Linked DNA regions of Homo sapiens: region 2 is linked to region 1. The links are contacts of gene promoters, found by promoter capture Hi-C in blood cells and fetal thymus (Javierre and others, 2016). All regions are on one chromosome and are shown on one strand. The core of a region is centred on a gene start or on the middle of the fragment in contact, and the rest is flanking DNA. Distances in the headings are between cores, read along the strand shown. Region 1 holds the start of ZDHHC23 (zDHHC palmitoyltransferase 23). Region 2 overlaps QTRT2 (queuine tRNA-ribosyltransferase accessory subunit 2).

Region 1 (5,211 bases), core at 1,827-4,326:
ATAATGCTTTGGGAGTTTATAGGCAGAATGACTGGGGAAAACTACATGAAGAGTGTGAATATGAGTAAGTTTTAGGTGAAGAACATGAGGATGAGAGCATGCAAAGGCACTGAAGCAAACTTGAGTTGTTTAGGGGATAGTGAGGAGACCACTGCAACTTCAGAAATCTTTTAGGAAAACGAGTCTGTCACTACGCTTAATTTGATTAATGGACCTATTGGGAGGTAGACTATGTAGCAGTAGGAAGAAGTACAATACTCCAGCAAATGGGAAGAACTCTGTAGCAATCATACTGATAGATACCCCAAAGAATCAGGTATTTTGTATTTAACGTTTTATTTGGGCATCAGTATAAACAAAACTATATTAAGTGTCACTGTAAATTTTGGGCATAAAAAACAGAAATTTTCAAATCTGATTAGAAAAATTAATCTGATTTTGAAAATTAACTTTGTTTACAGCTGAAGAGCTCACTCATTATGCTTCAGAAAACGTTTGATCTACTAAATAAGAATAAGACTGGCATGGCTGTTGAAAGCTAGTGATCTGAAGGACTAAAACCGCAGAGATACTTGGAACTTAAAGAAAATACCTGGAAGAAAACCAGACGAATGAAGGATTTTGGCATAGAACATTTCTATGTTTTTTCATTATTGAGATTTCTAATATGAACATTTCTTTCAGTAACATTTATTTGATAATTAGTTTCTGCTGGCCTTAATAATCCATCCTTTCACTTCTTATAGATATTTTTAAGCTGTGAATTTCTTCAGTGAACCATGAAATATATTATAGAACTGAATTTCTCTGATACAAAAAGAAAATGACACACCCTGAATTGAGTGGTATGGTCTCATTTCTACAGTGAAGTCTGATGCTTTGTTAGCACAGAATCCGTACATGTCCAATAGGTCGCTTTTGTAACTGAGATAAGACCAAGAGGATAAACAGGACAATATAAGAAGAAACCTCTATGTCATTACTGATTTTAAAGGTTCTGTTTTCAGGCATATAACATTTCCAGGTTTGTGTACTGTAAAGATTATAATGTCTTCATTTATTTAGCATGCAAATTTAATAGTCAAACTTTTTGAATCTGCATGTTGATGATGATTATCAGAAAGGGTCTTCTGCCATGCTGTATCTTTATGAAAGAAATAGTTGTTTTTTCTTAAGGTAACTATCAGAGGTGGGATTATCTTGCCTCCTCACTTAGAATACCAACAGTCAAAAGGAAGAACCATCCTCTGAGTTTTAAAAACCAGAAGGTTATGTTAAAATCTGGGCATTTAGTGACAGATCAAATGCATACTTGAACTAAGATTGGCTTCAGCTTAGCAGTCTTTCATGGTGGAAGTGACACATCTGGTTGAAAATAATTTGTGTATTTTCAGTAACCATGTATGGCTTCCTTCTTTATGTATGTGTGTGACTTGTTTTGATTGGTAAGTTATAAGCCAGACATAGATTTTAGCTCTTTAATAAAAACTTCAGGGGCACGTATGTCCCAGTACAAGTGTACTGACTATCAAGTTTTAACTCAGATGCAAGCTTTGGCTCTTTCATAAAAAGTTTTTATGCATATGTGTCTCCATACAAGTGGCTCATTAAAATAAGAACTTTGTAAACTGACTTAAAATCAGATATTTTTTCAAGAGTTAGGGAAAGTTGAAGTGTTTTACTGTTTTGTCTCTTGAGCCCTTTCTCTGGGGAAAAAATACATATCCATCTATCTATCTATATATAAACTGTGTATACATTCTTACTGTTTGAACAACTATTGCCTTTAATTAAATGTTTCATTTTTCTCCAGAGTCCCCAAAGCCACATGGCATTATTATAGTCATTTTTGAGATGCCTGTAGAGAATGAAAGTATTGACTCCGTTAGAGGGAAAATGGGTTTCTCTGGGTGAATTCCAACGAAGCATACCTAGGGGTAACAGTGAACCTACCTGGGTTTGTTTTGTTTTGGTAAGGATTTATGTAGTGTCTGGCTGTAAGCAAGAATGAGTGGATTATAAACTTGAAGATTTCTCTGTTAAAGTCACAAAAATGATCGACAAACAATATTTTTGTGATGTTTATTTAAACGTTGTATTTTATAACATACTTCAAGGAAGAGTATCGAAGTAAGTTGCTTTATAAATTAAGACTAAATTCGTATGGATGCAGAATTCAATTAATAAAATTTGAGCCTGTTACGTAAATTGAATATTAATAAAATTGAAAATTTCTGAGTTGTAGTTTTTCTTCTTTTTCTACTTAAAAACAAAACTAGAAAGCCTGCGGTAGTGAAACGTGTACATGGGCCCACACTCTTTAAAGAAATTTTGTGCAATAATAAAACCCAAAAAGGACTCTCATCTCAGGGCAGTTTCATCTCAAATACACAGACGACTGGAACAAAAGTACTAGCGAGGCCTGCTGGTCCAATGTAAAGGCTGCTAGCCAGAAATCATGAAACGAACAGGTTGCTAAATGAACAGATCCGGCAGCAGTGATGGGCCTTTAAGAGAAGGTCAGCGAAACTGGGGGAGGTACTTGGATAACATTTTGCGGTGGAAAGCTCCCTCACCGCCTGTTGCCGGAGTCTGAATGAAGGCTGGCGGCTCCACGGTCTCACGTAGTTCGGAAATCCTCCGGGTTCCCGGGTTTCCCGTATTTCCGTCTCCGCACCTCGTCCGCACCCCGGGGCTCCGGAGGCTGTCCCACCGGCGCGCCGCCCGCAGGCACCGGCGGCGCCCGGCTGCCGCCTCTGGGGCGGGGCGGGGCGTGGCGTGGCGGGGCAGGCCGGAGGTGCGGGACCCACCTCCTGCCCCTGCCTCCTGGACGCGCTCTCGGGAGCCGATTTTCCCCTTCCCGGCGCCAGGGCCGCGGGCCAGGAGGAGGAGCCTCGCCCGCGGGCACCGCGGGGAGGCGGGCGGCGCACGTGCGGACAGGCGGGGAACCCCGGCGCCGGGGGCGGGGCACCCGGAAGCGCGCGTGGACCTGGCGCACCGAGCCGGGCGGGCGGAGGGGCGGTTGGGACGGCGCGGGGAGGCGGGCGCGCCGCCCGGGCCGCGGCGGGCTGTGGTCACAGGTGGGCGGCTGCGGCGAGGGAGCGGCCGAGCGGAGCCCGGGTCCCGGAGACTCCTGCCGTCACGCCCGGGGCTCCGCGTAGCAGAGATCGGGAGACGCGTCTGTGCCTCCGGGGAAGCCGACCCATCTCCCCTCCGCCTCTTTGGCTGCAGTTGCACCTCCGGCCAGAGGGCAGGTAACTTCCCTTCCAAGGTCATTCTCCTGGCGGGGTGGTGCGCGAGGCCCGCCCACGTCCTCCGGATTGGCGGGGGCGGGAGAGGCGCACCCTGCAAGGGGCCCGACCAGTTGGGCTGGACCGCGACCCCTGAGCACTGCCAGGGAGCCTGGTGTGTCAGCCGCTGCTAGCGGGCATATGCTTCGCCTTTCCCTATAGCCCCGAGGCTGAGTTCCCACCAGCGCCCAGGCTTGGAGCGGAGACCGCTCGGCCCTCCCAGCCTGCACCCGCAGGTGAGCGCAACCGCCCGCGCCCCGGCTGTCCCGGACGCGTGGTCGGCTGTCGCCATAGGAACGGCTGGTGCCCAGACGGCGCCTGCCCAGGCTGGGAAGGGGCGGTGAAGGCAGCTCAGACCTCCAAGAACCCTGGAGCCCCCTGTGTGGCCAGGCGGAGCCACAGAAGCCTGATGAAAACGGGACCCCCTCCCCCTCTCTCTTCTCATTTTTGATTGCTCAGGCGTTGGAGGTTAAGCAGAGAGAGAGAGGCGTGGACCTATTTACGAGATGTAAGTTGTGTTCTTTCCACCTTTACCTTCTGAGGGCTTCTTACGCCTCATGGTGACAGGTGCAAATCATGACACAGAAGGGCAGTATGAAGCCTGTGAAGAAAAAGAAAACCGAAGAACCTGAATTGGAGCCCCTGTGCTGCTGCGAGTACATAGATCGGAATGGGGAAAAGAACCACGTGGCTACTTGTTTGTGTGATTGTCAAGATCTGGATGAAGGGTGTGATCGGTAAGAACAGAGCATTTCTTGACGCTGGCCCCATCACCCTTCTGAGAACTGCCATGTGTACTTTCAACCTAGCCACCCAGAATGCTAGAATTTGCTCTTGATTCTATTTCCAAGCATCTAAAATGAGAGTTGGCTTCTGTGTCAAGTGTGAGGATTTTAGAAAGATGGATTACGCAGTAGTGCACAGCTGTCTGTCTGCTCTGTTTTATAGGATATTATTTTTCGTTTAAAGAGAGATGAGGGAGAGAACAGGCAGTTTAAAGGGATAGTAGGCAAGTTAGTATAAAATAAAATGCAAGCCAGCAGAATCTGTAAGTTTAAAATGAACACAATAGTTCCAGAAAGTTCCTGCCTTCTCAGAGGTCTCAGCATTTAGAGACTGACTACTTGGGACTGGGTGGCACCTGACCACAGAGGGCCTTGTGGGTTGAAATTTCATTTTCCTGCTGTTAGTACTGGTCTTGCCCCTTGTTTCTGGGGAGGAACTCCAGCCAGAAGGCATGTATCTCCCCTGGATTCACAGTTTTCAGTGCGACCAGCAACACTCTTGATTGATCATACTGTATTTGGCTTTTATTTTCCAAGTGATGGAAATTACTATCCAAAAAGAGAATTTTTAACATCACTGAAAAAATTTGGTGTCGGACAGTGAATAATCTGGTTTTAATCCATTTTCTGAGTAATTATATATTTAAAAATCACTGTCAATGGAAGTCATAATGTGGGAAGGATAGGGATGTTGGAAACTTGCTTTTCCCATTAATAATTATTTCTGGTTAAAAAAGTCATTGCAACTGCCAATTTGTTGACTTAGAACTTGATACATTAATACAGCCATGAAAAGCATTCCCTGGGGTCTGCAGTCTAGTACCAGCCTTGACTATTAAAAACCCAGTGAACCCTTTGTCGTTCTTACTTGACAGTGTACTGTGTAGTCTTTTTTATGGATGTCTTTGAATATAGGTTCTTTAGATTTAGTCTGAAATCTATACTGAGAAAATAGAGCACTTTGCACTAATGAATGGAGAAATGATGCTGTTTCCATAACCACCATCACTCAAGACCGCAGCTCTTCCATTAACCTTGCTAACTCTTCCTCCCTCCTAGCCCTGGAGACCTTGGCTGTCCCCTGAGGCATCTCCTCTGCTCTCTCTGTACCCCTCTCCTCTGTGTTTCCACCGTGC
Region 2 (4,906 bases), core at 2,202-4,701, 110 kb after region 1:
TTTATTGTATTTGAGCCTCTAGAAAAGAAGTGTAATTATAAAAAACATTTACCATAACCTGAACAATGAATGAAGAAAGGAAGACTTGGTTCTTCTAGCTCTGGACAAAATTCCATTTTTTTAAAAAAAATATTGATTTCCAGCTGAAGTATAGTACATCTCTGATGTTTTCCTCAGATTTTAAAATATTTGCATTCATCCCCACAAAACAGAATCACTGACCATGGCAGTTTATTTTAATACTTTTTCTTAAACCCAGTCATCTGCTTTTGCTTCCTTATTTTTCTCTTCGTTAATATGTTGAGTTACTGTGATTAGGGTGGAACTTTTATGAAGCCCCAAACAACAGAAGTGAGTATGTAGCACCAAAATCGTTCACTGTAGAGAAAGCCAAGTAGGTATTTCTCTCCAGCTGGCTGAGTGGGTTCAGTATTCTAAGCTGAGGATTTTGAATTTCATCTTTAAAGTTATTTGGGATTAAAGCATTATATCACAGGAGAGCCCATCTCTGCCTCTAAGAACATGGTGGCCAATGTCCTTTAGAGTTACAAAGGACCTCTAATTACAGACTTTCAGTTAAGAATCAAGAAAGTTGTTTCTTCAGTTGAGGAAAGAGTGGGAAGGGGAGATGAGAGGGAAGGGGAGATGAGAAAGAAGAGAGAAGATGCCTTCAGGACTGAGTGGATGATTAATCACACTTGAGACTCGTTTGTTAAAAGATGGGAACTTCTAGAATATGTTCATTCTTTCCTTACACAAGGATGAAACTAAGAAGTCTTTGAGAGAAAGGTAAGTCTTGGAAGCCAATGGTCTGGGCTTCCAGGTCTGGCTGCCTTTATACTCTTAGAGAATCCTTGTGTCCAACCTTGGAGAATCTGAGATTGGTTGTTTGGTCATCTTCGCTTATCTGTGGGGAATATGTTCCAAGACCCCTTGTGGATGCTGGAAACTGCAAATGGTTCCAAACCCCAGATAGATAGGTAGGTAGGTAGGTAGGTAGGTAGATAGATAGATAGATAGATAGATAGATAGATAGATAGATAGATAGATAAGATAGATTAGATAGATAGATTAGATAGATCCAAACCCTAAATAGATAGACAGACAATAGACAGACAGTATGATGTTTCCTATCTATACATACCTATAATAAAGTTTAATTTATTAATTAGGCACAGTAGTAGATGTTAGTCACCTCGGCAAACAGTCTTTTTTCTTTTCCTAGTTGGAGAACTTTAACCTTTTCTCATAAGGGATCACTTTATGGCTTCCCTTTGGCATATCCGTATTGCCAGCATCACAACTCTTGTGCTGTGGGGCCAGTCGTAAGTAAAATAAGGGTAACTTGAACATAAGCACTGCAATACAGTGACGGTTGATCTGATCAATGTGACAGCTCCTAAGTAACTAAGGGGCGAGTGGCGTCTACAGTGTGAAGATGCTGGGCAAAGGGATGATTCACGTCCTGGGTGGAACAGAGCAAAATGGTGAGAGATTTCATTATGCTACTCAGAATGGCATGCAATTTCAAACTTATGTTTATTTCAGGAATTTTCCGTTTAATATGTTTGGACCTCGGATGTCCATGGGTAACTGAAACTGGAAAGCAGAACTGTGAATGGGGGTACTGTGTTAAGAAAACCGATGGGTTTCCTTTTAGTTGCCTTTATGTACCTTCTTCTTCCCATTCTGATTCTATGCTTGCATGGCATATTTGGCTTCATGTATTGCATTCTATAGGGCAAACATGCCACTGACTGATCCACTTTGCTTTTTTCGATTCTCAGAGTAAATAATTGTGCATACTGATTTTATTGTTTAGTCTCTGAGGTTGATAGGTTTGAGCCTGACCCTGAGTGATGGCTCTGTGCTGGGTATATAGAAAAGATCAGGCTCAGCTTACCAGGCAGAAGCCTAAATCCCTTACCAGTGGCCAGCCAGCCCTCCAAGCAGTACAAGACTGTAAGGCACTGGAGGGAGCAGCAGCAGGTGGCTAATCTTTGAGCCCCTGTGTAATTCTGTTGGCACAGGTTAAAGAACTTGACAGCTGCTTTCTTTTATCTCTTTTCTTTCTCTTTCTTTTCTTCTTCTTTGTTTTTAAGACAGGATCTCCCTCTGTTGCCCAGGCTGGAGTGCCAGTGGCGTGATCATGGCTCACTGCAGTCTCTGCCTCCCTGGCTTAAGGGATCTTCCTACCTCAGATTCCCAAGTAGCTAGGACTACAGGTGCATGCCACCATTCCTGGCTAGTTTTTGTATTTTTTGTAGAGACAGGGTTTCATTGTGTTGCCCAGGCTGCTCTTGAACTCCTGGGCTCAAGCGATCTGCCCACCTTGGCCTCCCAAACTGCTGGAATTACAGGCGTGAGCCAATGTGCCCAACCAAAGCCACTTTCTTTTTATGACTTTCCACAGTGTGTTCTAGGGGAAAAAAACAAAAAGATGTTTCATAGATTTCACATATACTTTTGAAAAATCTTGTTATTTTCAGTGGCCATGGTATGCTGCAGGATATTCTAAAAAAAAAAAAAAAAAAATCTGAATGCATCTCCTAGCATGTTAAATTTACTCTCACATAAAAGCCATAATTGGATGGGTGCAGTGGCTCACGCCTGTAATCCCAACACTTTGGGAGGTCAAGGCAGGAGGATCACTTGAGCGCAGGAGTTTGAGACCAGCCTGGGCAACGTAGTGAGACTCCATCTCTCCAAAAAAAGTTTTTTAATTAGTTAGGTGCAGTGGTTGGGCACCTGTGGTCTCAGCTACTTAGGAGGCTGAGGTGGGAAGGTTACTTGAGCCTGGGATGTCAAGGCTACAGTAAGCCGTGATTACACCACTGCACTCCAGCCTGGGCAATAGAGTGAGACCTTGTCTCAAAAAAAAAAAAAAAAAAAAAAAGAATAAAAAGAATACAGGCCTTTTGCAGGAGGCCCAGGTTCTAGACAAGCCTATGACTAAGCAGGCCTAGTCTCAGACTGATTACAATAAAATGGCAGAAGGGGTGATGTGGTGATGAGGAATTCCCAGGTAGGGGTCTCTGGTAGTAATGGAACTCTATAAACTATTTTCAGTATTTCTAAAGTCTAATGGTAATTATACAATACTGGGATATTAAGCACAGTTTTACTAAAGCAATGGGGTTTGTTGTTTTTACCTGGAATTCAGTTAACACAACATGGAAAAGCAGATTATCTCATGCTTGTCAGAAGCTTTGGTTGTCAGTCATTTGTGTCATTTATTAATAAACTGGAGAAACGAGAGCATAAATTTGATGAGGAGAGATAATAAAAGTAACATTCTAGAATCCTATACTTCATTTTTCAAACGTATTAGTTTTACCCAATGAAGGTTCTTCGTGCCTTTATATGAATTTAATTTAAAAAACACTGTTCATGTGTGTACATTTAAACTCTTTACATACTTTACACAGCTCAGATGAGAGAGTATTTTTGGAGTAAGATAGAATTTTTGGAGGAGCCAGCAAGTTCTTGTCTCTAGCCCTTTCTGAAATAGCTTCGGGCAACACAGTTTCTTCCGTTCTCAGACGTATGTGATAGTAGGAAATGCGTAAGTTACTGCAGCATTTAAAAATTCTGGTCCGTTTAATTTTCATTAGTTCTTATTTGTGTTTCAAGAAATCTAGTGTTCCATATTGGTTGATTTCAATATTCAGTCAGAACAACAGGTATTGATTCATGAAGCTTTGAAGTACATTTCTCATCTTTGTGCTTCCCCCTGCTTCAATTCTCCAGAGCTACTTAGATTACAAAAGTCTGTCTTAAATTTCACATTAGAACTCTGTTGGTTTAAAATATAAAATACATTTTTATCACTTGAAATCAGTATTATCTGATAAATAAATAAAGATTACAATTCTTTTATATTTTCTACAGTATGCTTTTATTAGCTTATAAGTATAGTTTTACAGTTTTCTTAAATGAACCTTCTTGTTTTAGCAGTTTTAATGTGTAACAATAGGGTATGTAAAAAAATAGCTTTTATACTATTTATTAAAATATAACCTTTTTTTCCTTACCAGTCTCCATTTATGTGGGTTCTAATGACACTTATTTGTATGTTTCTATCTTAGTGATAACTTGAAATAATGATCTCATAGTTATAGAAAATTGACCAGGCTTTCATCAAACACTTATATTAGTTTTTATAATTTGTGTTTAGCATAAAATCTCTTCTTAGACCATATAGAAAGTAGTTATTCTTTTTTTTTAAGAAAGTAGTTATTCTTATGTCTAAGATTCTAATGACAAAGATGGCTATTTTATTTAAATTTAAGAATTTATGTCTCCTAAAAAAAAGTAATGTTTTTATTCTTGAATATATTTAACTAATGATAGATATGTCTTATTTATTTGGTGACATTTTAACAATGGTTGACTTTCAGAGTATGGTATGCTATAATGCTTAAGAAAATGGGATCTGGCCGGGCACAGTGGCTCATGCTTGTTACCTCAGCACTTTGGGAGGCTGAGGTGGGCGGATCACCTGAGGTCAGGAGTTCGAGACCAGCCTGGCCAACATGGTGAAACCCCATTTCTACTACAAATACAAAAGTCATCTGGGCATGGCGGCACACACCTGTAATCTCAACTACTTGGGAGGCTGAGGCAGGAGAATCTCTTGAACCCGAGAAGCAGAGGTTACAGTGAGCTGAGATCGCTTCACTGCACTCCAGCCTGGGTGACAGAGCGAGATTCTGTGTCCAAAAAAAAATGAAAGAGAGAAAAGAAAAGAAAATTGGATCCTCTCTGATAGCTCATTTGTCAACTAATAAAACTGGGCCTGGCCCAGTTTTTAAGAATTCCAGAAGATATGGTACTTGCTGTAGAGATGTAATGAAGTATTTGTAAAATGTTGGTATGTCTGGTGACATTTAGCCGATGATGTGTG

What was found. Contacts are between HindIII fragments. The CHiCAGO score rates a contact against its expected background, and 5 or more counts as called.
Region 2: a fragment that was not itself captured here is called in contact with the fragment with the promoter of ZDHHC23 in region 1 in 1 of 17 cell types (naive B cells); the score reaches 5.2 in naive B cells.

What each region holds. Positions count from the first base shown.
Region 1 is chr3:113,944,937-113,950,147 of GRCh38, forward strand. It overlaps ZDHHC23 (zDHHC palmitoyltransferase 23), which reads left to right and starts at 3,077. Exons shown (of 5, transcript NM_001320466.2): 1 at 3,077-3,254; 2 at 3,750-4,027. The coding sequence starts at 3,867. It overlaps GRAMD1C (GRAM domain containing 1C), which reads left to right. Exons shown (of 18, transcript NM_017577.5): 18 at 462-2,238. The coding sequence ends at 542. RefSeq lists an enhancer at 2,495-2,995 and silencers at 2,710-3,209, 3,560-3,659. The HindIII fragment of the contact is 7,070 bases long and covers 1,550-5,211 here.
Region 2 is chr3:114,059,496-114,064,401 of GRCh38, forward strand. The region is part of intron 2 of QTRT2 (queuine tRNA-ribosyltransferase accessory subunit 2); the gene reads left to right. Among named protein-coding and RNA genes, the nearest start is that of QTRT2, 5.2 kb to the left of the region's middle. The HindIII fragment of the contact is 492 bases long and covers 3,206-3,697 here.